Linked DNA regions of Homo sapiens: all the other regions are linked to region 1. The links are contacts of gene promoters, found by promoter capture Hi-C in blood cells and fetal thymus (Javierre and others, 2016). All regions are on one chromosome and are shown on one strand. Each heading gives the region's core, a stretch centred on a gene start or on the middle of the fragment in contact. The rest is flanking DNA. Distances are from core to core; before and after follow the strand shown.

Evidence for each region. Contacts are between HindIII fragments. The CHiCAGO score rates a contact against its expected background, and 5 or more counts as called.
Region 2: a fragment that was not itself captured here is called in contact with the fragment with the promoter of AP3B2 in region 1 in 5 of 17 cell types (non-activated CD4 T cells, naive CD8 T cells, naive CD4 T cells and 2 more); the score reaches 6.5 in non-activated CD4 T cells.
Region 3: a fragment that was not itself captured here is called in contact with the fragment with the promoter of AP3B2 in region 1 in 5 of 17 cell types (total CD8 T cells, naive B cells, erythroblasts and 2 more); the score reaches 6.9 in total CD8 T cells.
Region 4: a contact is called between a fragment that was not itself captured here and the fragment with the promoter of AP3B2 in region 1, in 1 of 17 cell types (M2 macrophages). The highest score is 5.9, in M2 macrophages.
Region 5: a contact is called between a fragment that was not itself captured here and the fragment with the promoter of AP3B2 in region 1, in 1 of 17 cell types (total CD8 T cells). The highest score is 5.1, in total CD8 T cells.
Region 6: a contact is called between a fragment that was not itself captured here and the fragment with the promoter of AP3B2 in region 1, in 3 of 17 cell types (total CD8 T cells, naive CD4 T cells and activated CD4 T cells). The highest score is 6.5, in total CD8 T cells.

The regions. Positions count from the first base shown.
Region 1 is chr15:82,707,597-82,712,369 of GRCh38, reverse strand. AP3B2 (adaptor related protein complex 3 subunit beta 2) reads left to right here and starts at 2,495. Exons shown (of 27, transcript NM_001278512.2): 1 at 2,495-2,776. The coding sequence starts at 2,664. It also overlaps the pseudogene LOC338963. RefSeq lists silencers at 2,442-2,491, 2,712-2,971. The HindIII fragment of the contact is 2,125 bases long and covers 1,897-4,021 here.
Region 2 is chr15:82,953,670-82,958,442 of GRCh38, reverse strand. It overlaps a transcript of HOMER2 not described here. Among named protein-coding and RNA genes, the nearest start is that of HOMER2, 3.3 kb to the right of the region's middle. The HindIII fragment of the contact is 5,260 bases long and covers 1-4,773 here.
Region 3 is chr15:82,929,073-82,933,845 of GRCh38, reverse strand. The region is part of intron 1 of HOMER2 (homer scaffold protein 2); the gene reads left to right. All of the region lies in intron 4 of LOC105370928 (a long non-coding RNA gene), which reads right to left. Among named protein-coding and RNA genes, the nearest start is that of HOMER2, 21 kb to the left of the region's middle. The HindIII fragment of the contact is 266 bases long and covers 2,464-2,729 here.
Region 4 is chr15:82,545,937-82,550,709 of GRCh38, reverse strand. CPEB1 (cytoplasmic polyadenylation element binding protein 1) reads left to right here. Exons shown (of 13, transcript NM_001365242.1): 10 at 1,052-1,250; 11 at 3,473-3,567; 12 at 4,189-4,269. Among named protein-coding and RNA genes, the nearest start is that of RPS17, 7.9 kb to the right of the region's middle. The HindIII fragment of the contact is 2,175 bases long and covers 1,281-3,455 here.
Region 5 is chr15:82,866,486-82,871,258 of GRCh38, reverse strand. The region is part of intron 3 of HOMER2 (homer scaffold protein 2); the gene reads left to right. Among named protein-coding and RNA genes, the nearest start is that of WHAMM, 59 kb to the right of the region's middle. The HindIII fragment of the contact is 3,273 bases long and covers 638-3,910 here.
Region 6 is chr15:82,844,306-82,849,078 of GRCh38, reverse strand. HOMER2 (homer scaffold protein 2) reads left to right here. Exons shown (of 9, transcript NM_004839.4): 9 at 1-96. Among named protein-coding and RNA genes, the nearest start is that of WHAMM, 37 kb to the right of the region's middle. The HindIII fragment of the contact is 1,426 bases long and covers 2,088-3,513 here.

The DNA.
Region 1 (4,773 bases), core at 1,246-3,745:
AGACTTGGGAGGAGATGCTTGTCCTAGGTCCAAATCTCATCCAGGTTTCCCGATTTTTTCAGGTCTTCTGCTCAACTCAGGTACCAGCTGACACCCACCCAGTCCCTGGTGTTGCCTTCAGGAGCAGTGGCAAGATGGGAGCTGGTTGGGGAAGGGGATCCTAGCGCAGGGGGGAGGAGGAGAGAATGGAATGGCTGGACTTTGAGATGAGAAGACAGTTGGATGGGGAGGAGGCACCATTTGCTGGAACTGAAGGGTTCTCAGTAGGGGCTCGAGGCAGGATGTATCTGTGATATCTGGACCTCTGGAGTCCCTTAAGCACAAGGAGGCAAGTGTGTGGCAGTGAAGACATTCTGCCTTGGGCCCAAGCCCAAGACAGGTCTCCCTGAGCCCTGGGCAGACCATCCGACCTATGGTCATTGGAAGGACCCACCTCCTCCCTATCCCAGGCCTGTGTAAACGCCAGGAAGGCAGGTCCCTTTCTCCATGCAGGCCCTGACTGGGGCAGTCAGCACCATTAAGTTCTTCCTCTCTGAGGCTTTCCTGGGTCAACACTTCGAGGCTGTGTAGTTGGAGGGCAGGGAGCCTGAGCCAGGAGACGTCTTCCTGTTCAGGCTGATTCCCCCCACCTGACGCTGGTGCGGGGCCCACGTTGGCATATACTGTGGCCATGGAGAGATCATCCACTTTGAGGGTGAGTGCCTCCAGCAGAAACACAGGCCCAAGTCTGCGGAGAGGCTGCCCAGCCAAGCCACGCCCCACCAGTGAGCTGGCTACTCGGGGATAAAGACTGAAGTCCCAGGCTGGGGGTACGTTTCTCTGAAAATGGGGTTTGGGCACTCAGGGTCCCTGAGGTCTCAGGAAATGGGGGTGCGGGATCACAGGGCATAGGACCTAAGCCTGGCTCTGATCCGCACCCCTCTGGCGATCCCCGCAGGCAAGAACTCAGGAGGCTGTGGGCTCCTGGGAAGTTTCTGGGCTCCTGGAAAGGCATCGTATCCAAACAGGGGCAGCGCCCGCTGCTGCGCTCCTGCTGGCGCGTGCTGCGCAGAGTGAGCGAAGCGACGGACGCGGACCCACCATCCTATCACTCCATGCGCAGCAACTGTGTGCACTTTGCACTGTGTCTGCTCGTCCCAGGTCCCAGCCTGGACCCCCGGCAAATAGACGGGAGCTCCAGCAGGTCGGTGAGCGTGGCCCAGCTACCTGCACAGGACCCATCCCACCTCCTGAGCAGACTAGCCAAAGCGCCTTATAAACGCGCAACTGCAAAATCCAGGCCCTTCTCTTCCCACTCCCCACCCAGGCCAGTTTTCTCCAAATTCAAGATCCACTTTTCTCTGGCAGGCACAAAGCCACCGGAACCAAGCGGACCCACCCACTTGTCTAGGTTATCCCAACAGAACCTTCTCATTACCCCAATAGAACCTTACCCCAGTAGAATTACCCCCAATAGAACTTTTCTACTGAGCCAAGCTCCACCTTTCTGGGCCCCACTCCTTCCCAGGTAGGCCCGCCAATTCTGCCCATGGAGACTTCGGGATGCTAGTTACAGACCAAGACTCAGGCCTTAGGAACTCCTCCAGTCCCCATGCCCAGCTAAAAGACTCCAGCCACCTCAACTGATGCCCAACTGGATCCTACCTCTTCCCCCAGCCCAATTCACTACTTTCCATCGGATCCAAGCCTTCCTTCCTTGGGCCTAGGGGTCACTCGGGCTCGGGAGCTGAACTGGAGGGCTCACATGACTCAGGAGCCCTGGTGGTCACACCAGACCCTTCTCTTCCTTTTCAGGTGTCAATGGACGTGGACGTGTCCCCGGATTAAGCATGACCTTGGCCCTCCTGGGTGGACGTGGAGGCTTCAGAAAGATTCATTAAACTACTTTCCAAAGCTTAATTAGATGTTCACCGTCCTCTGTATCCTGTTTCCCATCTCTCTAAGCCCCCAAGGGCTCCTCGGAGCTCCCTGACCTTAATTCCTTAAATTCCGCCACCTCCAGGAAGCTCCTCGGCTTCCTGCTGCCAAGCCAGATTTTGTAGGAAAGGTGGGGCGGGAAAGGGAGCGTCCTTAGGTATCTGAGGCCGGTCCTCGGGTGCGGTGACCCCTTCCCGCTCTAGAACCCCCAGCCTGCGGGCACAGCCTTCTTTCCAGTTCCCGCTTTCCCTCCACGGCGTGGGTGAGCATCCGCGCGTGCGTCTGGGGAGAGCGGAGCCCCAGAGGCCCGTCCCGCCGAGGCCAGGTGGTCGGGGGTGGGGGCAGCTATTCCACATCCCCTGCAAGACGGTCCCAGCGTCCGTCCAGCAGACTCGCCCACCTTTAGATCTGGAGACGAGCCAAGTCGCTTTAAAGGGCAGAAGACGCCCTGAAGAGGGCATTTCCTAGGGATGGGCGGGGCCAGGCCCTGACGCACCGCCCCTGTCGCCTCCTCGCGGACACGCCCTCCGCTCGGCTGGCGCCGGTGCCTTTAAGACCTCAGCGCGCGGCCCTGATTGAGAAATCCGCGCGCAGCCTCCGCCGCTGCACACTGCAGCCTCTGCTGAACCCCTGCCGCGCCGCCGCCTTCGCCAGCCCGGACCGGACCGGCCCGCCTTCCCTTCCTCCGCTCCAGCCGGCCTCCGGCCCCGCAACCTCCTCCTCGGCGAAGTCTCCCTGGCCGCCCCATGTCGGCCGCCCCCGCCTACAGCGAAGACAAGGGCGGCTCCGCTGGCCCCGGGGAGCCCGAGTACGGCCACGACCCCGCGAGCGGCGGCATCTTCTCCTCCGACTACAAGCGGTGAGGGAGCCCGCCAGGAAGCTCGCGGGAGGGTTGGGGCCGGGGACCGGGCGAGGCGCGCGGGCACCATGGACAGCGCCCGGCCCCAGCGCCGGCCCCGCCCCGGCCGCGCCGACCGGAAGCCCGCCCGGCCCCCTCCTGCGGCCTGGAGCCCCGGCCCAGCGCGGGCAGCGCTGGCACCCCGGCTCCAGGGGCCGGCCTAGGACGCGGAGGGGGGCAGATAGGGGCTGGCGGGGGATGGGCCAGCTCAGTTTCGAGAGGAGAAACCCTCCGGTTCCAGGTGTTTCTCCGGTTTGCGGCGTTGCGTTAGGGGTTCCCTTCCTTTTTCGTGCTAGGCGGGTTGGCTTCCCAAAAATGTGGGGGAGGGGTCTGAGTCAGCGAACTTGAGCTTGAGCCTGGGGCCTCTTCAGGAAGGCGGGCCCTGGATGTACTTGCACAGCCTCCCAGCTTGGCCCTGCTGCAAATTCATTTCCCCTCCCTCTGGTCCCCATCTCCATCTGACCCTCACATCCCTGCTCCTGGCATTGCCCCTGTAGTTCAGCTCCACCTTCACACCCTCCCCCACCTTTGATTCGTTCGTTTGTTTCTTCATTTGTTTATTCGTAAATTCTGCAACAAGCATTTATGAAAAGCCAACTGTGTCGAGTCCTGAACTAGTCACGGAATACAACTGTGAACATGAGACCCTTCTTGTCCTCACGATGCTCTAGAGGGGAGCACAGATGAAGAAGCAGTCAGGGACAGTCGAGTGTAATGGGGGCAGTGGGAGCAGGGAGAGGACCTAGTCTCTGGCGCCGGAGAGAAGGAAGACAGGAGCGTGAGGTATGTTCCAGGCAGAGGAAAGGGCTTTCAGGAAGGTTGAGAGCCAGGCCACAATCTGTGTGAGCCACTGGACTGACCAGAAAAGAGGGTGGGGAGGACTCCTGAAGGATTCTAAGCAGGCGACATAATCAGATTTATATTTTAGAAGGACGTCAGGCTGCTGCATTGTGGAGAAGAGATTGGAGGTGGGCCAGATTGAACAAGAGACAAGGGAGGTGGGTCTTGAAGTTCACAGGCCTGGCATGATTGTGGCCTAGACCAGGGGAGAGGCAGAAGATTTGAGGCTGTGGAAGAGGTGGAAGCCTCAGACCTGATGATTAATTGGATATTGGGTGGGGGTTTAGAGGGACAGGGGGAGAAGATGAGGATTTTCACGCACGTCCATGTGAAGAGACCACCAAACAGGCTTTGAACAATAAAGCTTTTTAATCACTTGGGTGCAGGCCAGCTGAGTCCGAAAAAAGAGTCAGCGAAGGGAAATGGGGTGGGACCGTTTTACAGGATTTGGGTAGGTAGTGGAAAATTACAGTCAAAGGGGGTTGTTCTCTGGCGGTGGGGGGACACAAGGTGCTCAGTGGGGGAGCTTTTGAGCCAGGATGAGCCAGGAGAAGGAATTTCACAAGATAATGTCATCAGTTAAGGCAGGCACAGGCCATTTTCACTCTTCAGTTACTTCAGGCCATCTGGATGTATACGTGCAGGTCACAGGGGATATCATGGCTTAGCTTGGGCTCAGAGGCCTGACATTCCTGTCTTCTTTTATTAATAAGAAAAATAACATAAAATAGTGTTGAAGTGTTGGGGCAGCAAACATTTTGGCGGGGGGTGGTATGGAGAGATACTGCTTCTCCATAGCCTTGAAGGGCTGCTTCGAGCGGGATTGGGGTGGCGTGGGAACCTAGAGTGGGAGAGATTAAGCTGAAGGCAGATTCTGTGGTAAGGGATGATATTGTGGGGTTGTTAGAAGAAACATTTGTTGTATAGGATTATTGGTGATGGCCTGGATACGGTTTTGTATGAATTGAAAAACTAAATGGAATAAGAGAAGGAGAAAAACAGGTATTAAAGGACTAAGAATTGGGAGGACCCAGGACATCCAATTAGAGAGTGCCCAAGGAGGTTCAGCATAGCCCTGCCAGCAAAGATTATTTATTTACTTTAAGAGGGAGTTAAGA
Region 2 (4,773 bases), core at 1,205-3,704, 250 kb before region 1:
CTTACCTCTTGTTCCTGGCCACTTCCTACCACACTGTTGAGCCAAGCACATGGACATTCTTGTCGTTTCCTGTTTAAGTCATGGCCTTTAATGCCTCCGTGTCTCAGCATGTGCTGGTCTCGTTGCTGGACATAGAAATGATCTTCCCTCCTGTACATCCTTGAGGACCCAACTCACACATCCCCTTTTTGAAGTCTTCTGCAGGAACTACCTTATTCATACCTCGGTTACATTATATTTAGCTTATTGTTTAAGGACACAGACTGGCTCAAAATAGGTGCTCAGTTAAGATTAAATAAATGGGTAGGCCGGGCTCGGTGGCTCACGCCTATAATTCCAGCACTTTGGGAGGCCGAGGCAGGCGGATCATGAGGTCAGGAGTTCGAGACCAGCCTGGCCAACATGGTGAAACCCCGTCTCTACTAAAAATACAAAAAAGTAGCCGGGCATGGTGGCGCATGCCTCTAATCCGAGCTACTTGGGAGGCTGAGGCAGAAGAATCGCTTGAACCCGGGAGGCAGAGGTTGCAGTGAGTGGAGGTCGCGCCACTGCACTCCAGCCTGGGTGACAGTGTGAGACTCCGTCTTAAATAAATAAATAAAGAAAAATGGGTAGATGCTATCAAAATCTCTGGAGGCATCCAGGACACATAGACTTAGGAGAGCCCTGGATGGGAGAGGCAGAGGACAGATGGGACTGTTGGAAATCGTTTATAGCTCACCTTCCTAAGGGCAGGCCCTTGGCCTGATTGGAAACAGCAGGGGCTAGGGCTGGTGGTCCCATACTGATCTGGTGTCATCTTAAAGAGACAGCCCATAGTCTTCTCTGATCCTTAGGTGCCCTGTAGAGGGGTCCTGAATCTATGGAGGGCTCTGGATACAGATTGGCAAAGTGTTATCTGGCAGGAAGTACACAAGCTGTTTCCATGGTGGGGGCAGATTGAGAATCCTCAAACTGTACTAAATTTTAAAATGTTGATTATATAAGAACCATTTTGACAATATTAATTCAGTCACAATAAATGAAAATTTCACCCTAGTTCCACCATTATAGCCAGTAATAATAATAATAATACCTGTAATGTATTGAAGATGTACTATACTAGGGACTGAGCTAAGCACTTTACAGATATGATCTCATTCACTCTGTTTTTTTTTTTTTTTGAGACGGAGTCTCACTTCTGTTGCCCGTGCTAGAGTGCAGTGACACAGTATCTTGGCTCACTGCAACCTCTGCCTCCTGGGTTCAAGTGATTCTCCTGCCTCAGCCTCCCGAGTAGCTGGGATTACAGGCATGTGCCACCATGCCCAGCTAATTTTTATATTTTCAGTAGAGACAGGGTTTCACCATGTTGGTCAGGCTGGTCTTGAACTCCTGACCTCAGGTGATCTACCCGGCTCAGCCTCCCAAAGTGCTAGGATTACAGGTGTGTGCCACCACACCTGTTCTCATTCACTCTTCTTAATAGTCCAAAGAGATATCGCCACTTCGTAGATTAGAGCGCTGAGGCTCAGAGAAGTTAAAAACTTGCCCGTGGTCACAGATAGTCAATGGTAGATCCAGGACTTAATGCAGGTCTGAGTCTAATACTGATGCCTTTACCCTATATTCCTTCTGCCATCCTAATAAACTTTTTCATTTTCTATACTCCAGGCCTTGTCCATATTTTCTAATTTTACATAATTATACTCATAGCACAGCTGTAATTCAGATTATTTTACAAACTTAACTTTATATCCTAATACACATCCCATCCACCAAGTCTTATTGAGTCTACCTCTAAAATATCTATAATCTGTAATCCACTTCCCTTCATCTCCACCCTTATCTTTTGTCTAGAGCCTCTTAACCAGTCTCCATGTTTTACTCTTGTCCCCTTCTTATCCCCTCTTCTCCCAGGAGTGAGTGATATTTTAACAATATAAACCAGATCACGGCATTCCCCAACCCATCAGTGGGTTCTCACTGCATTTGAATAAATTGCAAATCCTTAATCCAGCCAAAGGGCCCTGCATACTTCACCCATGCTTTGCTAAGCTCACTGCACTCTAACCACACTGGCCTTCTCCCAGCTCTTCAGAACAGCATGATTCTCTACCACCTCAGGGCCGTTGCAGTTTCCTCTGCTTGGAACCCTCCCCTCATGCTCCCCATGACTGATGCTTCTTTGTCTTCAAGCCTCTTCTTTTTTTTTTTTTTTTTTGAGATGGAGTCTCAATCTGTCACCCAGGCTGGAGTGCAGTGATGCAATCTCAGCTCACTGCAACCTCTGCCTCCTGAGTTCAAGTGATTCTCCTGCCTCAGCCTCCTAATTAGCTGGGATTACAGGCATGTACCACCATGCCTGGCTAGGTTTTGTATTTTTAGTAAAGATGGGGTTTTGCCATGTTGGCCAGGCTGGTCTTGAACTCCTGGCCTCAAGTGATCTGCCTGCCTTGGCCTCCCAAAGTGCTGGGACTACAGTCATGAGCCACCACACCCAGCCATCAGGCCTCTTTTTAAATGTCTCTTCAACAGGCCATTCCTGACCATCCTCCTCAACCTAAATTAGGTCTCCTATTCACACAGATCGTAGCTTATATATTTGTGTGATTATTTGATTAATACCATTCACACAATCTTATAGTCCTATGACAGAAGGACGTCTGTTTTGCTGAGCACTTTATGCCCAACACAGTACCAGATACACAGCAGGTGATCAACATTTATTGAAAGAATAAATATATTTCTATGTTACTATATAGGCTTCACAAATATAATGTAATAGCTGCATAATACCCGACAGTTATCCCTTTAATTAATGGCTTTAATAATACATTTGTTTCATATGCAGTTGAAAGAACTGACCTTTTATGGTTAGAAAAAAAAATGTTTGAAGTCCCTGGACCAGCCATACCAGAAATCTGAGCACACTAATAACAACATTATGCATGTACATGGTGAGCCTAATTTTGCTGTTGAAAGTAAAAATACAGGCCGGGCATGGTGGCTCACGCCTATAATCCCAGCACTTTGGGAGGCCGAGGCAGGCGGATCACAAGGTCTGGAGATCGAGACCATCCTAGCTAACATGGTGAAACCCCATCTCTACTAAAACTACAAAAAAGTAGCCAGGTGTGGTGGCATGCGCTTGTAGCCCCAGCTACTCGGGAGGCTGAGGCAGGAGAATTGCATGAACCCAGGAGGCAGAAGTTGCAGTGAGCCAAGATTGCGCCACTGCACTCCAGCCTGGGCAACAGAGTGAGACTCCGTCTCAAAAAAAAAAAAAAAAGAAAAAGAAAAAGAAAGTAAAAATACGTAGATTATAGGTTTTGAAATCAATTTAGTAGGTTATGAGCAGTACTGCTTTTAAAAATAGAACAGAATGGGCCGGGCACGGTGGCACACGCCTGTAATCCCAGCACTTTGGGAGGCTGAGGTGGGCCGATCACGAGGTCAAGAGATGGAGACCATCCTGGCCAACATGGTGAAATCCTGTCTCTACTAAAAATACAAAAATTAGCTGGGGTGGTGGTGCGCGCCTGTAGTCCCAGCTACTTGGGAGGCTGAGGCAGGAGAATCGCTTGAACCTGGGAGGCGGAGGTTGTGGTGCCCTGAGATCATGCCACTGCACTCCAGCCTGGTGACAGAGCAACACTCTGTCTCAACAACAACAACAACAAAACAGAATGATGTCTGAATGCCTGCCTGGCAAGTGAGAGGATAAACATTGTTTTATATAACTTTTTGTTTCTATTTTATATCGATATACCTATAGACATAGTATGTATGTGCTGAAGTATGTACCAGGTTGCAGGTTGTAGTGTAAAATATATTTCTTACTGTGGATTGTAGTTTAAAAAAATGAAAAACTCGGCCAGGCACGGTGGCTCATGCCTGTAGTCCCAGCCCTTTGGGAGGCCGAGGCGGGTGGATCACGAGGTCAGGAGATCGAAACATGGTGAAACCCTGTCTCTACTAAAAATACAAAAAAAAAAAAAAACTGGGCGTGGTGGCATGCGCCTGCAGTCGCAGCTACTGGGGAGGCTGAGGCAGTAGAATCGCTTGAATCTGGGAGGTGGGGGTTGCAGTGAGCCGAGATCACGCCACTGCCACTGCACTCTAGCCTGGGTGAGCAGAGTGAGACTCCGTCTCAAAAAAAAAATAATAAAAATAAAATAAAAATGAAAAACTCTGATTTCAGTGGCTTGCCTTTGAAGTTATTCGAACACTTCAGAATCCTCAGGTATTACCTGATAAATGACTTGTTCAGTGTTCTACAAGCTCACTTTCCTGATATTGCTGATTACTATGCATGGAGGATTTGGAAACTCCCAAGATTATTTTATTTTTTACAAACTTATTTTGTATTTATTTATTTATTTTTTTGAGACAGTCTGGCTCTTTTCACCAGGCTAGAGTGCAGTGGCATGATCTCGGCTCGCTGCAACCCCTGCCTCCTGGGTTCAAGCGATTCTCCTGCATCAAGCCTCCCGAGTAGCTGGGAGTAGCTGGGACTACAGGAGCACGCCACCACACCCGGCTATTTATGTATTTAATTAATTAATTTATTTATTTTTTGAGACGGAGTCTCGCTCTGTTGCCCAGGCTGGAGTGCAGTGGTGCGATCTCGGCTCACTACAAGATCCGCCTTCCAGGTTCACGCGATTCTTGTGCGTCAGCCTCCGGAGTAGCTGGGACTACAGGCGCCTGTCTCCACGCCCGGCTAATTTTTTTTGTGTGTGTGTATTTTTAGTAGAGACGGGGTTTCACCGTGTTAGCCAGGATGGCCTC
Region 3 (4,773 bases), core at 1,347-3,846, 220 kb before region 1:
TTCGTGAGTGTGAGAGAGACTTGGGGATTTCGAGTGGAAGGTGAGCTCCCTGTGAGTCAGCCCTGGTGATGTGGTTGCCAGGATGCTGCCTCAAACTCTGAAGACCTTAGTGAAGTGTGAAAGCACTGTAGGAAAGGAGGCAGTGGGCCTGCCCCGCTCCCATCTAGAACCCTGCGTTTGGTTCTGGGCACCAGAGGTCCCCTAAGTATAGATGTATGGAAGGACATTTGGAGGAGAGAATGCAGAGCAGGAGGGGTCTGGGCATGTTTCTGTGAGAATGATGAGAAGGTGGGGTTCTTGGCTGGGTGCAGTGGCTCACACCTGTAAACCTAGCACTTTGGGAGGCTGAGGTGGGAGGATTGCTTGAAGCCACAAGTTCGAGATCAGCCTGGGGTGATGTAGTGAGACCTCTTCCCTACCAGTCATTTTTTGTGTTGTTGTTTCTTTTTTTATTAGCTGGGTGTGGTGGCATGCACCTGTAGTCCCAGCTACTCAGGAGGCTGAGACAGCAGAATTCCTTGAGCCCAGGAGGTCGAGGCTGCAGTGAGCCATGATTGCACCACTGCACTCCATCCTGGATGACAGAGCAAGACCTCATCTCAAGGAAGGGTTCTTAATGTGGGATGTGGGGTCTCTGAACACCCCTGCCCATCCTATGGAGAGTTGTAGATAAGTGTGTGCTTGTCTGGGGAGGGTGTCCATAGTTTTTTTTTTTTTTATCAGATTTTCAAAGGGGTCCTTGATCCAAAGGAGATTAGCACCACCTGTTTAAAGGACTTGGGCATACTTAGCCTAGAGAAGGGACAACTTGAGCTGACAGTGAGGGCACGGGGAGGAGAGAGCCGCCCCCCTGTAGATTACCAGCTGCCGTTTGTGGTGGGGAGCTTGCTCTATGTGGACCCACCCAGTGGGGTTCAGATCGGTGGGAGGGAGCCCAGCTTTGGCTCTGTGTGGGCATCTGAGGGAGCCTAAGAGCACCTCTCACAGTTGGGGTGTGCACAGGGCAGGAGGCAGGAGGAGAAGGCCTGTGATGCCGCCAAAAGCTTTGTCCAAACCTTGTTCTGAGGAGTAAACAGCTTTGAACATTGCTGGGTTTTCCTCATCCTCAGAGAGAGTGTCTTGAGGGCCGAGCTTTGCGGGAGTGATGAAGCCCTTGTGGAGGCTCAGGGGTGTGGCTCAGGAGGCAGCGCATTAATTCTCATCTTAGGGAGTGCACCATCAGCTTGTCTTGGGGCCTCAATTACTCCTCTGTGGTGTGAGAATACTGTTCCGTATGGCATTGCCTTGGGGTGTGGTGGGTAGCTCTTCCCCAGGTCTTTTTTTTTCTTTTTTCTTTTTTTTTTTTGAGACAGAGTCTTGCTGTGTTGCCCAGGCTCAGGCTGGAGTGCAGTGGTGTGATCTTGGCTCACTGCAACCTCCAGCTCCCAGGTTCAAGCGATTCTCCTGCCTGAGCCTCCCAAGTAGCTGGGACTACAGGTGCGCACCACCATGCCTGGCTGATTTTTGTGATTTTAGCAGAGACAGGGTTTTGCCATGTTGGCCATGCTAGTCGCAAACTCCTGACCTCAAGTGATCCACCTTCCTTGGCCTCCCAAAGTGCTGGGATTACAGGCGTGAGCCACCACGCCCGGCCCTCTTCCCTACATCTTACTCGGGAATGAGCTCTCCTGCATAGGCCTTTGCTTGCCCACCTAGATGGTCTCTAGCATTGGGCTGTCTTCCATAATATGGATGGAGTTGGGTGAGAAGAGTGCTGAATTAGGCCCCCCAGGCCTGGGTTTGAGCACAGCTTTATCTCGTAGTAGAAAGTCCTGTCTTCCCCTCACCCAGTGTGTTCCTAGTGATGGTTAGGGCTCCTGTCTTTCTTTGGCACTAACAGAATCAGATTCAGTAAATTTAAAGTGACTCCTGTGAGACAGAACTGCTGGTTAATTGAGTTTGACTTTGTGAGAGTGTCCTCTCTTTTTCTTCTGTCAGTTTTGTTTTGTTTTGTTTTGTTTTGTTTTTTGAGACGGAGTCTCGCTCTGTCGCCCATGCTGGAGTGCAGTGGCGCGATCTCGGCTCATGGCAACCTCTGCCTTTTGGGTTCAAGCGATTCTCCTGCGTCAGTCTTCTGAGTAGCTGGGACTACAGGTGCATGCCACCACACCCAACTAATTTTTTGTATTTTTAGTAGAGACGGGGTTTCACCGTGTTAGCCAGGATGGTCTCGATCTCCTGACCTCGTGATCTGCCTGCCTCGGCCTCCCAAAGTGCTGGGATTATAGGCATGAGCCACCGCACCTGGCCTTTTTTTTTTTTTTTTTTTTAAAGCAGGCATGCTTCACCAAGGATGAAATATTCTGAAAAACTGGAATTGGAATCCCACAGCCTGATTGAAAGCCATATCACTGGCTTCAAGGGAGGGAGCTAAAAAAAGCTACTCCTTGGCTTCTCCCATGAATTTTAAATGTTCTGAAAGCTTTGCCTTGAGAAGGAAACAATGCCTCATGCCTTAAATAATTAAGTGGAGTACACTAAGAATGGCAGTGTCAGCCCAGGCTGGTCACACTGTGGCCCCAGGGGGCCTGTCTCTCAAGGGCAGAGCTCTGTGGGTGCTGGACGAAGTTGTCCTCATAGCAAAAATTGGTACAGCTTCAAATACTGCCTTTTAGGCATTTGGTGAAATTGGCATAACCCTGGAAATGTCATAAAAGAGGATGAAGGTGGCATGTGGTAGAATGCAAGCTTTTTTTTTTTTTTTGATACAGTGTCTTGTTCTGTCGTCCAGGCTAGAGTGCAGTGGCTAGATCTTGGCTCTGTATGGGCAACTGAGGGAGCCCAAGAGCACCTCTCATAGGCGGGGTGTGCACAGGGCAGGAGGTGCACAGGGCACACTGCAACCTCCGCCTCCCGGGTTCAAGTGAGTCTCCTGCCTCAGCCCCCCCAAGTAGCTGGGATTACAGGTGCCCGCCACCACACCCGACTAACTTTGGTATTTTTAGTAGAGACGGGGTTTCATTATGTTGGCCAGGCTGGTCTCAAACTCCAGACCTCAAGTGATCTACCCTCCTCGGCCTCCCAAAGTTCTTGGATTACAGGCATGAGCCACCACACCCAGCCAGAATGCAAGTTTTCTGCTGAAAAGCTGCATCCATCAGCTGTTTGTATCAGACAAACAGTGAATTCTTAGCTGGCCTTAATTTGCCCCTCCACTGCCACATGACTGTCCATGTGGGATGACTGTGGGCCAGGCCCAAGTCTGTATCCTCCCAACAACTATAGTATTGGCAGTGGTTTCTCTGTACACTTGGTGGAAACTTCTGGAGAATCTGTGCAGGGAAAAGGCTACTTTATCTTCAGGCAGAAGACCCTCCCTTCAGGGGCAGTGATGGCATCTCAGAGCTGCTTCCTGGCTGTCTGTGCACTCTGTGATTGCACCGGACGCTTACCTCTGAGGCTGCAGGATGGCATGCTGTACAGACGTCAGGTCATGCCAGGCGGTCCTTGTGGTATCTTACATGGTTTCTGTGGAAGAGTGAGTTCTGCCGGGGTAACTAATACTTATTGACTCCCTTTATACGGTATTTCATTTGAGCTTCACATTTTATGGATAAACTAGAGTTGAGAGAGGTGGAGTGACTTGGTTAAGGTCACACAGCCAGCACACAGAGTGAAGTTGGTGGTTATGTGTGTGGTCCGACCCTGAGGGAAGTCACCCAGAGGGTCACATTTTGTGAGACTTTTATAGTTCCATGAGAAAAACAGCCTTTATTTCAAGAGTACAACTTGAAGTCTAAAACCAAAAGCAGAGATGTGCCTCAGAAAAGCTGTGTTAGGCCGGGCGTGGTGGCTCACGCCTGTAATCCCAGCACTTTGGGAGGCCGAGGCGGACGGATCACTGGAGGTCGGAGTTCAAGACCAGCCTGACCAACATGGAGAAGCCCCATCTCTACTAAAAATACAAAATTAGCCAGGCGTGGTGGCACATGCCTGTAATCCCAGCTACTCGGGAGGCTGAGGTAGGAGAATCACTTGAGCCCAGCAGGCGGAGGTTGAGGTGAGCCAAGATCCTGCCCCTACACTTCAGCCTGGGCAACAAGAGCGAAACTCCGTCTCAAAAAAAAAACAACAAAACTGTGTTAGCATACCTGTAACAGGGTGGAGGCTAGTAGCCGAGGCTTCCTTTGATTTTTTTTTTTTTTTTTTTTTTGATAGTCTCACTCTGTCACCCAGGCTGGAGTGTGCAGTGACGCGATCTCGGCTCACTGCAATCTCCGCCTCCTGGGTTCAAGTGATTCTCTTGCCTCAGCCTCCCAAGTAGCTGGGATTACAGGTGTGTACCACTACACCTGGCTAATTTTTGTATTTTTAGTAGAGACGGGGTTTCTCCATGTTGGGCAGGCTGGTCTTGAACTCCTGACCTCAGGTGTTCCACCCGCCTTGACCTCCCAAAGTGCTGGGATTACGGGCGTGAGCCACCGTGCCTGGCCTCCTATGGATTTCTTTTGCTCAGAACCTGCTAAGCCGTTTTCCTTGTCTTCCCTTTCTCATCCATCTATCTCCCAGCTTCTCCCTGGTCCTTTTTCTCAGGTTTCAGCAGAGTTTCTCAGAATGATTTAGTTCTTTGATCCTGTTGGATTGTATATTACGATCACTTCTATGAAGGCATTATTCAGATTACGTGGTAGGAATCTAAATCTCAAATAAGTTAAGCCTGTTAGGCTGGGTCTATGATCGGCTGTATTGATACTAATCTTGACACACAGCAGGGTTGTAAGCTCCCCAAAGCCC
Region 4 (4,773 bases), core at 1,119-3,618, 160 kb after region 1:
TAGCCTCATGTCCTACCTGAGCCTCACCTTCCTGTGGGATCCTTCTTCGGGATGTCCTGTAATCCCAAACTCTTTTGTGGGCAAAATTGGCTTTTTCATCTTCCAGTGAAATTGGCTCCCCTCTTGTAACTTCTGCCAGGTCCTCTCATCCCAAGACCGTGTAGGCCCAGCACCTACCAGGCCTGATTCTTCCTTGCTTGCCCATCCTGCTTATGCTGTCTGAGTACTGCAGACTCTTCTGTTGAAGAATCTCTTTGGTCTTGGCCTGTTCTCTGCTCGTTGCCACCAGCCTTGTCCAAGTCTTAATCACCTGTCCTTTGAAACTACTGTTTTTGCCTCCTTGCTGGTTTCTGCCTCAGATCTCTTCCTGCTTCAAGACATATTTTTAGATCTTCACTTCATTCTGGACTCCTCCACCTGCTCTACAAGGTTTTGTTCCAGGTTCAGGAGATTCAGAGGCAAAGGACATGGTCAGCCCCAGCCCTTTAAGACTCCAGGGATCTTGTATGTGACTTTCTACCCAACCTCTCGCCAGTCATTTCCACTGCTCTGGCACAAACCCTCTGAAGGCTAGGTTGGGCCAGTAACCATCTCATACAAATATCGTAAGCACTCCCACCCCTCTGTCCTTCAGGATCCTAGCCTTTAATTTCTCTGTGAGTCCTTCCTTTCTTGAGGACTTCAGATTATGCCCTTTTCATCAGTGTCCACAGCCCTTTGTTGGAACTACACAGTTGGAGGTTGAAATAGAATGCTGGGCTCCTGGGTTTGGCCATGTGGTACTTTTTTGCTTACTCTCCAGCATGAGTGAGTACTGTGTCCACTTCTACCATTCTGGACACATGGACTCAGTAAAATTCAACTCCAGTTGGGGTGGAGTCAGGGTGGTTTATTGGACGCCTGTGTGCCTGAGATTGGGCAACAGCACCTTTTCACCCCTGTAAGGGCGTTAGCTTAGCTTCAGTATCTCCAGAGCACGTACCTTGCCGTGCAAGCACCTCTCTCTCTGTGGCTCTCTGCCAGGGCTGATACACCTTTGGGTGGTTTTCAGGTGCAGGTGATCCCCTGGGTATTAGCCGACAGTAACTTTGTCCGGAGCCCATCTCAGAGGCTTGACCCCAGCAGGACGGTGTTTGTCGGTGCTCTGCATGGAATGCTAAATGCTGAGGCCCTGGCAGCCATCTTGAACGACCTATTTGGTGGAGTGGTGTATGCCGGGATTGACACAGATAAGCACAAGTATCCCATTGGTAAGTGTCCCACTTCTGTGTGCGAAAGCTTGGTTGGCCCCTGGGAGTAGACCAAGATTGTGATACTTCCCCATGGGAGTGAGGAGAGAGGCCTGACCCAGGTCTGCAGATCAGCATATACCAGCACCATAATATCTTTTTCTAGACAAGTCACGAGTACTGGCCCTTCTGTATCTAGCCCTCTACCCACCATCTCCCACGCAGTGGGAGAAAAAGCTATTGGAGACTACAGGAGGTGATAAGAAGTGAGAGTGAGGTAGGAACTTTGTTGGAAGCTCAGAGTTCACAGCGAAACCAGTTTGGAACAGACAACAGGTACTATTTCATGAAAAGGCTGCAATTCTCTGAACTTGCCTGGAGTTTTTTATTAAAAGTTCTTGAAAAGCTCTGGCATTGTCTAAGGTCAGAGACCAGGTCAGGCTGGAGGAGGACTTTCTGAGTGAGTCAGGCAACAGAGTGTGGCCTGTGCTTTCCTAACTCAGAAGTCTGTGGGCCTAACCACTAGGTTTTGATCAGCTCCTCTGAGAAAGGAGGTCAATTCGCCAGTCCTGGCAAAATGTCAATGATGAGGTATGGAGGTGGAGCAGAGCCTGACCTCTGTGATTAACATGTGGCTAACCCACCTCCCCAAATGCTTAGTCTTCACACCCACACTGAATCTGGTCAGGAAGGAGCACCATGTACTCACCAATACTGTGCAGCAGATTGAGAACAGGGACTTCAGAAGCCCCAGGAGCGGAGGAGGAACTTGGCAGGATGGGGCTTCTTCCAGCTCTCTTAATAGGTCTCCAGAGTGCCTAAGGGCTAGGAGAGGTTCAGTTCAACTGCTGGGCTTACCCTTCAGACAAGTGTTCTATCTGCATCTTGGCTTCCACTCTGAATCCTTTAACCTTAACCTATGCTCTACCTGCACTGAAGGAGTCCCTTATCTTTCCTTCCCATCTTGATCTGCAAATTCTTCCCCCATTCCTGAATGGTTCACGCTAACATGATCTCCACTGTCAAATATGGTACGAATATGGTAGCTACCAGCTAAATGTGGCCCCATTGAGTTTTGGAAACACAGCTGTTGTCACATTTGGAAATAATATTATTAACATATAGGGTTAAATAAAATTTTTTTTTTGAGATGGAGTCTCACTCTGTTGCCGTGCTGGAGTGCAGTGGTGCTATCTCAGCTCACTGCAACCTCTGCCTCCTGGGTTCAAGTGATTCTCCTGCCTCAGCCTCCTGAGTAGCTGGGACTACAGGTGTGCGCCACCACGCTCAGCTAATTTTTGTATTTTTAGTAGAGACGGGGTTTCACCATGTTAGCCAGGATGGTCTCCATCTCTTGACCTCATGATCCGCCCACCTTGGCCTCCCAAAGCACTGGGTTTACAGGTGTGAGCCACCGTGCCCGGCCAATAAAATATATTATTAAAATTAATGTCACCACTGTTTTAAAATTTCAGTGTGACTACTAGAAAATTTAAAGTTACATAAGGGCTGACCATGATGGCTTATACCTATAATCCTGGCACTTTGGGAGGCCGAGGTGGGGCAGATCGTTTGAGTCCAGGAGTTCAAGACCAGCCTGGACAATATGGTGAAACCCTGTCTCTACAAAAAAATACAAAAATTAGCCAGGCATGGTGGCTCATGCTTGTAGTCCCAGCTACTTGGGAGGCTGAGGCAGGAGATTGTTTGAGCCTGGGATGCAGAGGTTGCAGTGAGCTGAGATCACGCCATTACACTCCAGCCTGAGTGACAGAGGGAGACCCTGTCTCAAAAAATAAATAAAGTTACATAGTAGCTCACATTATATTTCTGTCGGACAGCACTAGTATCGTAAAGGGTTTCCTGCATTTTAAAAGAGTAGCATTAGGGCAGGCTCGGTGGCTCACGCCTGTAATCCCAGCACTTTGGGAGGCTGAGGCGGGCGGGTCACAAGGTCAGGAGATCAAGACCATGCTGGCTAATGGTGAAACCCGATCTCTACTAAAAATACAAAAAATTAGCTGGGTGTGGTGGCAGATGCCTGTAGTCCCAGCTACTCGGGAGGCTGAGGCAGGAGAATGGCGTGAAACCGGGAGGCAGAGCTTGCAGTGAGCAGAGATTGCGCCACTGCACACCAGCCTGGGCGAAAGAGCGAGACTCCATCTCAAAAAAAAAAAAAAAAAAAAAAAAAGTAGCATTTGGGAGAATTTGGTTAGAAGGGAAGCTTGTGTCTGTTGTCCTAGGTTCTGGTCGTGTGACTTTCAATAACCAACGGAGTTACCTGAAAGCAGTCAGCGCTGCTTTTGTGGAGATCAAAACCACCAAGTTCACAAAGAAGGTGAGTTGGCTGGTTTATGCCCTTACTCTGGGGTATATGAGAGGGGTTTGGGCAGTTACTACCCAGGGCAGGCCTGAGACCTGAAGCTGTTTGTGCTGGGTGTGTTTAGGGAAGTGAGCCAAATTCCTGAGAATTAACATTGAGGTTAGGGTTTGGGAGTGGGCTTGGTCTTTGTACGCCCAGGAGGAAGGGAACTGGGACTGTTGAGCCTCTTCAGTGTGTAGGGTGCCTTCCCTCACTGTGGTATTTCTTTGGCATTGCTCAGTAGCCTGACTTCCTATTTTCCAACCTTTTGGGAATCCTCCGAACACTTGCCTATACTGCTAATTGATAGAGGGCTGAGGTACAGTTTGCCTAGAAGACCAGGCATTAAGGTGTGTGGTTGCCTGAATCCCAGAGGCATCCAGCCTGACTGTGCATGGTGTATGAGTCTGTCCTCTAGAACTCCTTTCTGTACTTCAGGCCCATAATTCTCTCCAAGCCTCCTTTAAAACAGGCAAATATCCTGCATTCCAATATCCCGCATTCCTGTGTGTGGCCAATAATGTGCCCTTCTTCTATCGCCTATCGAGCCTCCTGGTAAGAAGAGCCACTTCATCATCTTATTTTGCCTTTGTGCAGGTTCAGATTGACCCCTACCTAGAAGATTCTCTGTGTCATATCTGCAGTTCTCAGCCTGGTCCTTTCTTCTGTCGAGATCAGGTGGGTCCGATGTCTATGAAGTCCCTGCCCTCTATTAAAAATTGTTGGCTGGGCGCGGTGGTTCACACCTGTAATCCCAGCACTTTGGGATGCCAAGGTGGGCGGATCAGGAGGACCAGCCTGGCCAACATGGTGAAACCCCGTCTCTATTAAAAATACAACAATTAGCCTGGCGTGGTGGCAGGCGCCTGTAATCCCAGCTACTTGGGAGGCTGAGGCAGGCGAATAGCTTGAACCCAGGAGGCGGAGGTTGCAGTGAGTCGAGATCACGCCACTGCACTTCAGCCTGGGACAGAGCGAGACTCCGTGTCAAAAAAAAAAAATTGTTATGCCAAGTTCATGACATTGAATGTTGGAGTTCTGAGGTACCCTGTGGTGTCTGAGAGCATAGAGGAGGCAGCAGTAATGTTTGCTGAAGGTCAGACCGGGACAGACATACTTTAGATAGCTTGATCCAGAACTCTTAAGAAAATATGTTGAATTGAGTCTTTATACTTTGGTCTT
Region 5 (4,773 bases), core at 1,025-3,524, 160 kb before region 1:
CCTTGGTCTTAACTGCTCCATTATAAGGACTATTTCCCAACCACAGTCCAAAAAGTATTATTACAGGGCAATTTCCTGCTCTTTAGATAGGCTGTCCAAAAATAGTAGAAGCTGTGTTTTCTCAGAAGTAAACTGGGACTCGTCTGTCCACCCACTGGAGAGGACATAAAACCCCAGCCTACTGAAGGAAATTGAAAAGGCACTTGCATGTGCTGATAAAAGGAAGAGCTTATGAAAGGAGACAGAAGGAGGAACAAATATAAGAATGAGCCAGTGGTTAAAGTTTAGTTTCTTTCTGGCATTTGACCTCGAGTTGTCACTGTTCTAAGTTTGGTTCCATCTTATTCATTACAGGCAGAAGGAAACATATTCTGCCCTTAATGGGGAGCGACCCAGGATGGCGTTGCCAGTGCACCATGGTTGATCTGGCCAAACCCCGATACGTGCATGGCATTTGCTTTTGACCCACTTCAGTGATTTCATCTGTAATTCAAATTTGTCCCCATGTAGTCACTTTATTCACTCAGTATCGTAAGAACATTGTTTTATCTCCTCCCTTTCTGGGTCCTGATTTAACAGCTAATGTTTAAAATGGAGGATATTAATAATTATTTTGACATGTTTTAGGTAGAAAGCTTTTGGCTGCAAGTAACAGGTAACCTAATCACCGTGCTTAAATACATGGGATAATTTCCTCTCATGTGAAGAAGTCCTGAGGCAGGTGGTTGCTAGTACAGTGGCTCCATGATGTTGGGTCTGACAATCTGCATGGATTTCATTTGTTTCTTTTTTCTTTTATCGGCCTTTCCTTTGTGGTGATAAGATGGCTTCTAAAGCTCTACCCATCACACCTGCATTCTTGGCGAGAGGGAGGAGGAAGAGGCTGGTACCACAGCAACCCCCCTGGCAGACTTCTGGGGCCCCATTATCAATGCTGGGTCCCTAGCCCATTCCCCTACCCCACCAAAAACCAGGGAAACGGATTTCCATGATTGGCTTAGACTAGCTTTCATTCTCTAGCACCTAGGAAATTTCCTGCTCCAGAAAAACTTGAGACTCTGTTAAGCTACGGGAAAAGAAACAGATTTTGAATAAACAAACAGTAGTGTTTGCTTCAGGTCTTCAATGGCTAAGGCCAAAAGAAGCCACAAATGAAATCAAACAGTAATGGTTTCATTTTCTATCATGATAATGATTTTGTTTAAAATTATTACCACAATTTTAATAAGTACCAAAAAATGACCTTAATGAAGATGTGAGAATTTTGCAATACATTTCGGAAACCTTTGCAATTTGAATATCCTTTGATCCATGGATTTCATTGACAAGAATCTATTCTAAGGAAACAATTGTAACTGAGTATAAGGATATCAGTACAAAGATTGCAGCATCATTTATAACATAAAAAAAATTTAAAAGCCCTAACATCCAGTACTAGGAAATTGGTTAAACTGCAGTGTATCCTTCAGGGTAATATGTAGCGATCAAGATGTGTAATAGAGGCTGGGCGTGATGGCTCATGCCTGTAATCGGAGCATTTTGGGAGACCCAGGCGGGTGGATCACCTGAGGTCAAGAGTTCGAGACCAGCCTGGCCAACATTGTGAAACCCTGTCTCCTCTAAAAATACAAAAATTAGCTAGGTGTGGTGGCAGGCGTCTGTAATCCCAGCTACTTGGGAGGCTGCAACAGGATAATCACTTGAACGCGGGAGGCAGAGGTTGCAGTGAGCAAGATCACGCCACTGCACTCCAGCCTGGGTAACAGAGTGAGACTCTGTCTCAAAAAAAAAAAAAAAAAAAAAAAAAAGATGTTTAGTAGAAAATCATATAATTGCATGGAAGTATTAATATCATATTGTTTATTTCAAAAGAGGCCATAAAATGAGATATATAATCTATTTTAAAAGAAATGTAGGTAATGAATGCAAATATACAGACAGAAAAATATCAGAAGATTATGTGGTTTGTTCTTATCTTGGATGATGGTGTTGCAGGGCAGGGGAGCTCATAAATTGGGGCTCCACCTGGGAAGGTTCTTGGCTTTGCCTGGGAGGGAATTATGGGGTGAGTTGGTGGTAGAAGAAAACAGCTTTATTGAGGTGGCAGTGTTACAGCCCTGTGGCTGCTCCTGCAAAGCAGGGATACCCTGTAGGCAGTGTGTCGAGAGGAGCAGCTATGCGGCAGTTCTGTGGTCGCATTTATACCTACTTTTAATTACATGCAAATTAAGGGGCAGGTTATTCAAACATTTCCAAAAAAAGTGTGGTAACTTCTAGGTCATTGCCAGGGAATGAGTAAACTGTCATGGCTCTGGTGAGCCCATTAACCAGTCTTCCGTCTAGTCCAGAGTTGAGTCCTGCCTCCTACCTCAATGGGACTGTAGGTCTAAATATATATATATATATATAGCTGAGCGCAGTGGCTCATGCCTCTAATCCTAGCACTTTGGGAGGCCAAGACAGGCGAATCACCTGAGGTCAGGAGTTTGAGACTAGCCTGGCCAACATGGTGAAGCCCCGTCTCTACTAAAAATACAAAATTAGCCGGGCGTGGTGGCGCATGCCTGTAATCCCAGCTACTCAGTAGGAGGCTGAGGCAGGAGAATCACCTGAGCCTGGGAGGTGGACGTTGCAGTGAGCCAAGATCGTACCACTGCACTCCAGCCTGGGAGATACAGTAAGATTCAGTCTCAAAAGGGGAAAAAAAAAAAAAAAAATATATATATATATATATAAAATAAATAAGTGATATATATAACTTATGTAACTTAAAAGTTAAAAAATATATATTTTTCCAGATCATCTCCCTCCTCCTACCCTCCACCCTCCACCCTCCAGTAGGCTTCTGTGTGTGTTGTTCTTCTCTATATGTCCATGTGTTCTCATCATTTAGCTCCTACTTATAAGTGACAAATGGGATCTAATTAACCTAAAGAGCTTCTGTACAGCAAAAGAGACTATCAAAAGAGTAAACAGACAACCTACAGAATGGGAGAACATTTTTGCAAACTGTGCATCTGGCAAAGGTCTAATATCCAGCATCTATAAGGAACTTAAATTTACAACAACAACAATAAAAAAACCATTAAAAAGTGGGCAAAGGACATGAACAGACACTTTTCAAAAGAAGACATACATGCAGCCAACAATCATATGAAAAAAATATTTTTTTCTAAATTGTATTTTCCAAATTTACAAGCATATATATATATTTTTTTAAGAATAAGGGGGAAATATTAGAAAATGCAAGACTTGGAGGGAGGCGATTTTTCACCAAAGGACAATTACTAGGCGGCTCTCATGACTGGCAGTTTTCTTCTGCTAGTTGGAGGCTTTGAGAGGAAGTTTCTCTCTATCATTCTCCTAGGGCCCACTGGGTTGTTTCCAGTGTTCCATATTTGTAGACAATGCTGGAATTAACATCTTGGTATTGAGGGCCTTTTTTCCCCCCATATTCTCAATTATTTTGGCAGAATGGTTTCCCAGAAGCAGTATCACTGGGTCAGTAGGTATGAATGTTTTTTTCACTAACAAGACATATTTCCAAATAGTTTCTCAGTGGGGCTGCACCAATACACAACACTACCAGAAATATCTTGCCAGCACAGGGAATCTAATTGTCTTTAGTGTTTGCTCATTTCACAGGCAAACAATGGTACCTCGTTATTTTGATTTACATTTCCAACAAGGCTGAATGGTGTTTTCTATAAGCTGTTACTGCATTTTTTATTCCTGAATTTTGCCATTTATTTACTGGGCTTGTCATACTTTTCAGTTTGTACAAACTCTTGCCATACTAAAGAAAATAGCCCTTTTTCTGTTGTACTAGCTTAGCTATAGATATTTTCCCAAGGCTGTTGTTTCCCTTCTGGTTTAGTTTTTTTTTTTTTTCCTTTTATATTCAAAAGCTTTAAATTATTATGTAGTGAAGTCTGTCACTTTTGTGGGTTTTAAGAAATTTCTTCCAAGTTTAGAAAATTATCCACCCACCTCTCAAGCAGAAGCTTGATACATGCTCAGTTCTGTTTGCATCCAGAATTTTTTTTTCTTCAGAAGCATCCTGATTTTTTAAAGTTTGATTTTCTTTTTCTTGCCCCTTTAACTCATCAATAATTTATCATGCTACAGGTTTGTGGGATTTAAATTCATTTCTCTCAATTTACTAAAGTTATCTCAATTATATGTTGAATAATCTTCCTCATTAATTTCTGTTTCCCCCTTAGTCATAAGCTAATTTTTTATATAAAAGTTGAGGCCCATTTCTCACCTGTTTGTTCTGTTCCATCATGCATCTACTAATACCACACCTTTAAAAATGATTATTTATTTAAAATGTATCTGATAGGGTATATTAGTCCATTTTCACGCTGCTGATAAAGATATACTCAAGACTGGGCAATTTACAAAAGAAACAGGCTTATTGGACTTACAGTTCCACGTGGCTGGGAAGGCCTCACAATCATGGCGGAAGGTGGAGAGCATGTCTCACATGGCAGGAGATGAGAGAAAAGAGCTTATGGGAGGAAACTCTCATTTTTAAAACCATCAGATCTCCTGAGACTTATTCACTATCATAAGAACAGCACAGGAGAGACCCGCCCCGATGATTCAGTTACTCCCACCAGGTTCTTCCCATGACATGTGGGAATTGTGGGAGTTACAATTCAAGATGAGATTTGGTTGGGGACACAGAGTCAAACCATATCTTTCCATCCCCTCCCAAATCTCATGTCATCACATTTCAAAACCAGTCATGCCTTCCCAACAGTCTCC
Region 6 (4,773 bases), core at 1,551-4,050, 140 kb before region 1:
AGCAGATGATTGTGCTGTGGGAACAGCACACAGTGAGGGTGCCTAGCACAATGTCTGGCACAAAGTAGGTGCTTAATAAATATTTGTTCAATTAAATGTGTACACAGAATTTAGTGTTTTAATCAAACCCCACAGCAGAGCTGGGACCCTGTCGAATGATGCACCATCTTTGCTGTGCTGGGTAGTTAACAGACATGAATACCACTGTCTGGTCAAACCCAAGCTGGGGCTCGGGTGGCCCTGGGGCAGGGAGGGAGAAGGGGAAGCAGCAGGAGCTGGTCTCAGGCCCCTGGAGCCCATCCGTGATGCTCTGCCCCTGGGGCTCTCCAGACCCTCGAATCACCTTCTCCCCTAGGAATGGTGACCCAGGGATTCCAGGTATAGGGGCTGCCCAGGGCTTGGTACCTAGGGTAGGATTGTCTTATGGGTCTGGACAGCTGGGAAGAAATCACAGGCATTTCGGGGGGAGAGAGCAGCTCAGCTGACAAGCCTTGGCCCTCATGACAGAGGTGTTCCACCCAGCTCTGCGTCCTGCCTTTTTCAGTTTCTCCTAGGGAAGGGACTGCAGCCATAAACCTCTCCTCTCTCACAGAGCTGCTCAGTGGGGCCAGCGGGCCTGTGGGTGCTGTTGGCATCCTGCCCTGGGAGATTGCCCGTGTGTGGCAATAATGGCTTGAATCCCTGGCCCCACACATCTCTAAATGCCTTGAGCAGGGGGGAGGCTTTGGTGCCCCCTCACCCCTTTGAGAACCACCTAAGAGGACTACTCCTTCTAGAAACCTTCTCCCATGGACGTGGTTAGACTTTCTCCCTGCTGAATTTGGATTAATGAGCAAACAACCCGAGGAAGGAGGGAGATGGGGTCCGAACCCAGGTGCCCTGGGCCCCAAGGTGAACACGAGTCCTCCTGCTCTCCTTCCCTTCCCCTCACGGAGACGCCTCTCTGAGCTGGGGAGTCTTGTTTGGGATGTGGATGGAAGGGAAGGCTGGGCATCTGGAGCACCAAGGCACTTTTAGAGGAGCTCCCGCAAGGTGAGTGGGGGCTTTGGTTGAGTACATAGGGCTTTTGGCAGACAGGAAGTGGAAAGCGTGGCCAGCCATCTTTGTGATTCGGGGTAGTCTGCTGCTGGCCCTTCCCTTTCCCCAGAGCTCCAGACGGCTCTCAGGACAGTTGGTAGCAGCTCCCTCCTGGCTGCACCAGGAGACCAGAGAGCCGAGCTGGCTATGAGTCAGCCCCGTGGCCCAGCAGCGGGATAAGGGGATTCTCAAGCCAGCCTGGTCTGCCCAGCAGCAGGCTGGGTGTGTGGCTGCCTGGGAGCAGTGGACACTGGGTTCCAAACACCTTCCGCTGGGGTCTTCAGATGACCTCTGCCTTTATCAGGTGACTTATGAATCTAGAAAGAGCCCGCTTGACTGACAAGAGAATGCTCAGGTGACATGCATAGAATAGTTACTGAAGCCACTTGTACATTCTGATAGCAGTGACTTTAGAAAACTCCAGAAGTGGAGGTGTAGAAAATGTTGGAAGAGCCATTTCCACAGTGGGCTGCTGTGCAGTTGAGACCCATGATCCCAGTTCACCAAGCACTGAAGAGTGTGGTGAGCATCCTGTGGGCAGCAGGTGAGGAACTTGGATTCCTCCTGCTGTGTGTCCAGCTCTACAGCTGTTGCAACCCTGGAGCTAAGAGTAGTAAGGACTCCCTTAAAGGGAAAGGTAAGTTGGGCTTGGCCGTGAAAGCACAACAGCTTTTACAAAAGCACTGAACTTTCCATTCCTTCTGCTTTTCTCTGAAGATCTCAGTGTCTTTTCATTTACTTTCTTTTAAAATAGTGGCCCTGGAGCAACCTGGACGGTGTTCCCTTGAGCTGGTGTGACGTGCCCTCGTTTATTCTGACATCCAGCCCAGTCTCAGTACTGTTGTCATAACCTTACGCCAGACTCAGGCAGAATGTAAGCCATTCACTCGTGAGCATCGCAGCCGCTTGTGCTGCCTGGAAGCTGCAGGGCCAGGACTGCATTTTCAGTTTGCAATTGAGGTCTCCTGATTTTGGTGTTTCCAAGACTGGCTGCTATACCTTGATAAGCTTTCCTTCTGCCTCCATGAAACCTGGTGTCTAAAAAAGATCAACTAAAACTTGGAACCCTTTAACCAAGAGGACCTTTAAAAATAACCTTTCATTCCAGTCAAGACCCAGCTGGATGCATTTTAAAGTTGGGAGTGGCGAGGAAGCCTTCCTAGTGCCGCCCGGGGAATGTAAAACCACCAGAGCAACAGGTTGGGACAGTATGGTCAGGCCTTGGAGGGAAAGAGAACCAGTATCCACACAAGACCTCGAACTTGTGTGGCCCCTCAGTTTCATCTCTCCTGCCTGCCATCACATTAGACTTTAATTGGGTGAGAGAACAGGGCAGAGACTGTCACCTGCATTTTGCAGATGGGAAGTAGAGACAGAGAAAGTGACACGCCCAGGGTCACCCAGCGGTGACCAGCAGCGTGGACTCTGCATCCAGGTCTCCTGGACCTTGATGCAGTATCTTTTGAGACATGCCACTCTAGTCCCTTTGGTGACCCGTGGGTGCCAAGAGAAAATAATTCTTATATCCTGATAAGAGCATATTACAATTATATTATTTCAATATGTGTCCACAGCAAAGGACAGTTTACAAAAATGTGAATCCGAATGACATTTAGGAATGTTTGTTATAAATGATAAGTTCCACTTTGGAATGATTCTGGTTTTGCAGGAATCTTTCCAAGAAAGTTGGTTAAAATGATGTCTCTGCCTGTGAGGCCAGTTCTATGGAAAACAAACACACCCTGAGTTCTTTATTGATGGCTTTAGTGGAGGCAGAGCAGTATGTTCAAAACAAGTGGGAGGCCCTGAGATCGCAGGAATGGAAACAGAGTTCTGGCTGGGGGTGGCCTGTCCACTGCCCGCCCCTTCCTGGAGATGCACTCCTTTCTGGCTTTCTGGGGAGGGAGCAGCCTTGCTCAGTGGTGGGAGCAGCTTGAACGGGACCTGATCAACACCCAGGAAGACTGTGCACAGAGGGCAGTTGGTCTCCAGCCTGCAGGCTCCATGAGCACAGCCTTGATGGTGGTGGGCAGGCGCCTGCCTGCTGTGGACTACATTTGATGCAAAACATCAAGTAAAGGGTGGAGCGTAATACAGTGAATATGCCTCCCAGAAACATCATGCTCTGCCTATTTTAACAGGGCTCTTTTTCTTTAGAAAAGTCTCCTTCTCTATAGAAACCAGGGACAATTTTGGATGAGAGCCAACCACAGGACGCGCTGGGGACGTTATGGTGGGACCTCACATGTGGCCAGGTGCACCTTTGGGAAGAAGGCAGACGTGATGTGACTTAGCACAGGCACTCAAAAGAGGCAGCCACTGGTCTTTGCTAATATCCAGAAGTGGATTGTTTGTTCCATTCATCCTTCTAGAAGCTAAATTCTTTCATTGCCTTGAGACATCACTAGATTTTGAAGCACTTGCAAACTAGAAGCTTGCAAGATCAATGTCCATGTATATTTTTAAAGATATGCATGCTTTAAAAGGACCCTAATTTCTGAGTACATGGCTTCCCCAAAGAAACAGTATATATTCTGGAGATGATGGGGGTTTTGGCATGGAGAGGGACTCCTGTCTAGTCTAGAAAATGTTACTTACATGCCTCTTCCATGTACCGATCTCAAGAATATGGGTTTTCTAGTTGGCTTTAAACACTACCCAGGCAGGAAGGTGGCTTTGGTAAGAATTTTGAGCTGGATGAAATGTTCTAGTGAACTTACGACTGTGTATGTGCGCACGCGTGTGTGTGTGTGTGTGTGTGTGTGTGTGTGTGTGTGTGTGTGAAGAAACAGCAAAAGGGGAAGTGGGAGAAACAGTAAGGAAGCGTTTTTAATTAAAAATATGTATACCTAAGAGGAGACTTTATTTTCTATTTCTGGTGGTGGTGATCTATGTTCTGGAATCCATTTACCAGAAGTTTGTGGATCTTTTGTTTGAAGTGGAATTGTTCAGTGCCCTACTCTCTTTGACGGTGCAGAGCCTTGCGGCAAAGTGTTCTCCTGGGCCCTAGAGACCCCCAGGGCACCTGGCAGGAGCCCGTAAACCACGGCAGAGTCCCAAGTGGTGCATGTTTTGGCGAGTGATGGGCAGGACTGATGATTCACAGCTGTGAGGCTGTGCTATTGTTTTTACCCTCTTGTACTGCTTTTAATAGGAAGTCCCGACTTTACGTCAGTTGTGAGAGCAGCGTCTTATGATGTGACAGGCAAGAAGACATTCCTTGCATCAAATATAAGAGTTTAATGAGAAGAGTGGAGTGGATAAGTGAACTCTCCCAAGAGTACTGTTTTTTGTTTCCCTTTTTAAATGCTTTCTTGGTACATAAATAATATAATACTTTTTTTAAAGAAATTCCAGATGAGTGGGAAAAAAACCAATCACCTGTTATTACACTATCTGATTATAACCACTGTTAACATTTCAGTTTTTATCTTTTCAGACTTTTTTCTATGCATCTGTGTGTGTTTTATTACTTTTTCCATGAAATATAATCATATTATACATACTGTTTTATAACTTTTATCCCTTTTAATGCTATATTGTGAATAGATTTCTATATCAGTAAATATGTAATTACATTATTTTTAACCTCTATGTAGGTTGTACCTTGGATACTTAGGTTGTTTCCAATTTTTTTACTGTTGTAGTCAAGGACATAATGAAGTTCTTCTAACATCCTTGCGAACTTTTCAGAAT